2 separate regions of the Homo sapiens genome follow, and region 1 is linked to region 2. The links are contacts of gene promoters, found by promoter capture Hi-C in human tissues and cell types (Jung and others, 2019). All regions are on one chromosome and are shown on one strand. The core of a region is centred on a gene start or on the middle of the fragment in contact, and the rest is flanking DNA. Distances in the headings are between cores, read along the strand shown.

Region 1 (2,700 bases), core at 125-2,624, 53 kb after region 2:
GAGAGAGAGGCCCAGCGTGTGGGGGTGACATCTAGACAGAGGGGATGAGCTCCTGATATCTTTCTTTTCTCACATCCTGTGGGCCTCTTGCCTGGTTTCATTTGATCCCCAAAGCCTGGCTTCATTTGTCCACACCTCCTAGCTAACTTTAGTCCCCACTGCCTGATTTCATTTGGCTCCCACCACCTACCTTCTTTGGGGCCCTGTCACCTGGTTTCCTTACACCCTGCTGCCTGGTTTCTTTTGTCCCCACTGCCCCCTTCCCCGAAGTCCCTATCACCTGGCTTTATGGCATTACCCCTGCCTGGTTTCCTTAGGTCCTGCCTGTCTTCCGTGGAGTCACGTCAGGCTCCTTTTAGGATGGAGGCATCAGGGCCCCAGCTACACCTGGAGTGGCAAGTGGCAAGGATGTCTGCAGCATTGCCGATCTTTCCTGGGCTGGGGCCTGGCCAGCACAGCCTGGATTCCATTCTGACTGGACAGCGACTCCGCGTCTACTCCTCCAGTGATGGGGGCGGGGCTGCAGGGTCCAAGGACACCTTAGGACTCTCCTCCTCAGTGGTTAGTTAGAGGAGCACCGCTGGCTCTGCCTGCTCCCCTCCTGCTGCTGGGCATCTGCCCTACCTCTCTGTGGGCTGACAGTGATGCCAGGGCTTTGGTGGGGGCTGGGGGGCTGGAGTGGAGGTCTCATCTCCTTCCCTTCTCCTGCCCTTTCTGCAGCCAGGCCAGACATCTGGGTGCCCGCTAGACAGTTATGGGCACATAGAGGTTTTGAAGAGGCCTTGGGATCACACAGCAGATAGCTAGGCTGAGAGCTGCTGCCGATCCGCATCGTGGGGAAGAGAGGGTGATGAGGGAAGGCAGCAAGGGCCTGGGAAGTCGGCTGATTTCTGGGCCTTTCTGGCTCTTGCTGATTCCAGTGCCACCATCTGTCTCCCCCAGGTACTTCCTTCACCTCTCCTGTCTGGAATGGATCTCCCTTCATTCCCTAATGCTGTTGAAAGCAGGGTTTGGGGAAGAAGGAGCTGCCTGGGGAATAATCATTTATTTTCTCACTTTTTAGGGACCAACGAAGTATTTCCTTTCCTTTTCTTTCCTGCCCTAGGCATCCCTAGGCTTTCTGTCCCTCCCCTCAGGCACGGCTAGGCAACCTGAGGTGCTGGCACAGTGTGGCTGTTCAGGGTGTGTATGTGGGTGTTTCCCATTGCCGGTGTCGGGGCGTGAGAGGCCAAGGGCGACTGGGGGCCCTGAGCTTCTGGAAGTGTACAATGGTGTCTGTGTGGAAGGTTGACTGTTCGGAGTGTGTGATGGTATCCATATGTGAGACCATGGCTGTGTGAGGGAGTCTGTGTGTGTGAGTGTGACTGTAATGTGTGCACGCACACCAGCGTGTACGGGGCTGTGGGAGTGGGTGTCCATGTGGGAGGCCCTGATGTGTGGCCACGATGGTAGGCTCTGAATGCCAGTGTCTGCGAGAGGCTGCCTGGGTGTGTCTGTGAAGCTCTGGCCCTGTGTGTCTGAGGAGGCGGGGGCTTTGAGAGCTCTGCCGGGTGTAGTGAGAGCCCAAGTGTGTGCTCTGTCTCGGGGTGAAGTGAGCGCTGGGTGCTCTGTGGCCTGAGTGGCTGGTGTGTGTGTGAGCACGTGTGTGCACGTACTCACGCCTGTGTTTACCCATCAGGAACAGATTGCTGTGGCTTCCCCACTGTGAGGAGGGGAGGAAAGGGGAGGAAGGATGGCTCGGTCTTGCCCAGCAGACCAGGAGGCTCCTCAGAAGTAGCGTGCATGGTGCATATGCACGTTAGGGGGCAGAGAGAACAGAACACAGAAGACATTTGAAGCTTCTTTTCCCCCCACCCAACTCTGGCTCTGTCAGAACGACCATCTTCAGGTTTTTTTTGTTATAAGCCGATGCATCACATGCACTGCTGCCCCCACCCCCCGGGGTGTGTGTGTGTGTGGGTGGGTGGGTGGGTGGGTGTGTGTGTGAGCTTGCTTGCATGGGCCTCTGTGTATGGATTCAAGGGTGTGTCTGCACCATAGCAGTGATGGGGCCAGGGGTGGGTGTGGTAGGAGATGCTGAGGCAAATAGGTCTTTGTCCTAATCTCCAACTCTGGAAAGCCATTCTATCCATCCTTGTCTCCACGGAGGGCCCTGCCTTGCAGCCTCCTTCCTGTCCCCGGCGTCCGCTTCGGGCCTTTCCTTACCCCACCCCCCTGCTAAGGGAAGTCTCAGTCAACCCTATTGCTCTGCCCATCCCCTGCCTTTCGTTGAGTTCTTCCAGCTGTCTAATGTGCTACAGCGTTCTGTCCCTACAAGAGGAGCAGTACCCCGCTCCCCACAGACTTAGCCTAACTGGTGTGTGTGCCTTTCCTGGGTGGAGGGGGCTTCCTGATTCTTCTGGAAGCCAGAAGAGACTGGACTGGGGTTGGGGGCTGGGGGATTTGGCACCAGTACCTCAGGTTCTGTGAAGCTCTCCAGAGCCTATGTGTCCAAAGGGAGGATACGAACTTATCTGCCCCTTCCTCCTCTCCATTCAAGAGGCAGGGGGCTGGACCAGATGACTTTTGAGGGTGAAAGCCCAGGCCTTCTGCATCTAGAGGGCTACTTAAGCACAGGCCTGCATGTATGTGCATATACAAGCCCATGCCCAGGTCACCAGGCAGCATGCGGGGCCCCAAGTGGGCCTCCACATGTGGGCA
Region 2 (2,700 bases), core at 199-2,698:
GTCAGAAGACAGTCTCTGGTGCCACAGTTTCATACCTATGCCAAGTGTCACCCCTACAGACACCTGCTGTTCACTTACACACTTGGCATCACCTCACAGTGTCCCTCTGTTTGGTAAGTGGTCCCCTTGGGCACAGGAAGAAATAGGAAGTATGAGGATTCCCGGGAGGAGTGGGGTCCAGGCTGTTCAGAGCAGAAATTCTGAGAGGCCTGCCACTCAGAACCCCCAAATAAGGAACAGCATTTCAGCGTCTTGGGAATAGTTAGGGGGAGGGCGCAAAGCAGTGGGCTGAGGGGGTCTGGAGATACAGATGTGGCAGTCAGGCACACATAGGTGGAGAATGTGTGTGAACATGGGCGAAGTGCCGGTCACTGTTGAAACAAACCTATGATGAGTACCAGAGGTTCATTATACTATTCACTTGTCTATGTTTCAAAATTTTCATAATACAGGCTGGGTACGGTAGCTCATGCCTGTAATCCCAGCACTGTGGGTGGCCAGGGTGGGTGGATCACTTGAGGTCAGGAGTTCGAGACCAGCCTAGCCAAAATGGTGAAACCCCATCTCTACTAAAAAGACAAAAATTAGCCGGGTCTGGTGGTGGACGCCTGTAATCCCAGCTAATTCCAGCTATTCGGGAGGCTGAGGCAGTAGAATCACTTGAACCTGGGAGGCGGAGGCTGCAGTGAGCCCAGATCGCGCCACTGCACTCCAGCCTGGGTGACAGAGACTCTGTCTCCAAAAAAGAAAAAAAAGAAAAGAAAGAAAAAGAAAAGAAAAGAAAATTTCCATAATAGAATGTCAAAAGAGACAAAAACTGTGTGTGGCTGTGTATCTGCATGCGGTGAGTGTGCAGTCAGCTTAAAGACCTCTGAGAGTGTGTGAGTGCATAGGTGTGGGTCCACCACCATGTGCACTCATGTGTGCAAACCGCAGCATGCCCGCAGTGGGGGACAGCACGTAGGCAGGGCAGGGGTGCTCAAGGCAAAGGGAGAAGCTTCTATTCTGACCAGACCCTCCACGCACACCCCAGCATCTTGCAGAGGGATTCCCCTCTTGATCACAGCGTGCCCAGGCCATTGGCACTGTGGTGACCATGTCACGGAACGTGTGAGACTGGGAAGCTATGCGCCTGAACTTGTGACAAGGTGTGTTGGTGTGTGGATGCGGCTATTTGTATGTGGAAGCCCAGTGCCGAGTGTGGGTGTCGGGGGCACGACTTGTGAGGCTGGGCGGGGCTCTGGTCCGGAGTCCGGTGGCGGTAGAGCCCTCATTTTCGCACGATTCCCCCGCAGCTTTCCAGCGCCCCCTGCCCCCGAAGCTGGCTGGAAAGAAGGTGGGAGACACCTGTTGGGGAGCTGAGAGCGGCAGATCCCACAGGGGCCTCTCCCCATGCGCCCCGCCCGCCCTGCCCCGCTCGGGTCCCGCCCCCGCGGCCGCCGCAAGCAGCGCGGCGAGTGAGCGCACAGCCGCCAGAGGAGCACAGGGCGGCGGGAGCGCACCGCCGGGACCCAGCCGAGGCCAGGGCCGCCTGGGAGGCGGGCGGAGCAAAGGCAGCGCCGTGGAGACGCCAGGGGCAGCGGGCCACGCCAGGCAGGTGAGTGCGGCCGCGGGGCGCCCGGAGCGAGGGAGCCGGGCGTCGCGACTCTGCCGCCTCCTGCCCGTCCGGTCCCGTGCCCGTCCCAGGCTCTGCCCCACCGCCCTCCATCCCCGCGACTCCTTGGTCCCTGTCCTCTGCCCCTCTCTCCGGCTGTTTTTCCCGTCCCTGTCTCTGTCGGTCCCTCTCTATTTAACTGTCTCTTTCTAATCTCTCTCTTCTGTCCGTTTCCTGCTGTCTTGGTCTTTCCCTATATCTCAACCCCTGTCTATTTGTCTATCTCCGCCTCTGTCTCTCCGTCTCTGTCCGTCTCTGAGCTACCTGTCACTTAGGTCTTTTATCTGTTGCTCCTCTACCTCTCTTACCCTCCCTGTCTCTCTACCCAATATTCTATCTCTCTCCATCTCTGTCTGTCTACCCTGTCTCTGCCTGATACCTCTGCCTCTCTCCATCTTGGTCCCTCTCAGTCTCTGTGTCACCCCACTTCTGTCTCTCCTTGTCACCCTGTTCCATCTCTATTTTCACATCTCCCTGTCATTGTCTCTGTCGGACATCCCCCTTCTCCTTTTCTTTCTCTCTCCCTTCCTTCACCATTTCCCGATGTCTCTTGGTCCCCGTCACCCTCTCTGATCTGCTCACTCTTCCAGTCCTCAGTCAATGGCCATTTGATTCCCCGGGTCTGGTCCTGTTTCTGTTCACCTCTGGGAAAGCCATCTTTCTGCCTCTTTCCTTGTGACCCCTGCACTTCCCTGAATCCATGACCACCTCCCCCTGTGTTGGGGGGCTCTGGGGGCAGTAGGGCCCAGCACCCATAATTCCCTCCCCCACAGGCGGCCCTTTCCTCGGGGTCCCGCCTGGTACCAGGGACCCCCTCAGCTGGGGGACTGCGCCTGGAAGCTGTCATGGAGGCCCTGCAGAAGCAGCAGGCAGCTCGGCTGGCCCAGGGGGTGGGGCCATTGGCCCCTGCATGCCCGCTGCTGCCACCGCAGCCTCCCCTGCCTGACCACCGGACCCTACAGGCCCCTGAGGGGGCCTTGGGGAATGTTGGGGCTGAGGAAGAGGAAGATGCTGAAGAAGATGAGGAGAAGCGGGAGGAAGCCGGG

What was found. Contacts are between HindIII fragments. The study calls those that stand out against the background at their distance.
Region 1: a contact is called between a fragment that was not itself captured here and the fragment with the promoter of ARID3C in region 2, in 1 of the 25 tissues and cell types used here (neural progenitor cells).

Annotation. Positions count from the first base shown.
Region 1 is chr9:34,574,946-34,577,645 of GRCh38, reverse strand. All of the region lies in intron 2 of CNTFR (ciliary neurotrophic factor receptor), which reads left to right. All of the region lies in intron 1 of CNTFR-AS1 (CNTFR antisense RNA 1), which reads right to left. Among named protein-coding and RNA genes, the nearest start is that of CNTFR-AS1, 8.3 kb to the right of the region's middle. The HindIII fragment of the contact is 3,588 bases long and covers 1-2,700 here.
Region 2 is chr9:34,627,814-34,630,513 of GRCh38, reverse strand. ARID3C (AT-rich interaction domain 3C) reads left to right here and starts at 1,448. Exons shown (of 8, transcript NM_001017363.4): 1 at 1,448-1,597; 2 at 2,428-2,700. The coding sequence starts at 2,500. RefSeq lists silencers at 1,330-1,489, 1,540-1,639. The HindIII fragment of the contact is 10,650 bases long and covers 1-2,700 here.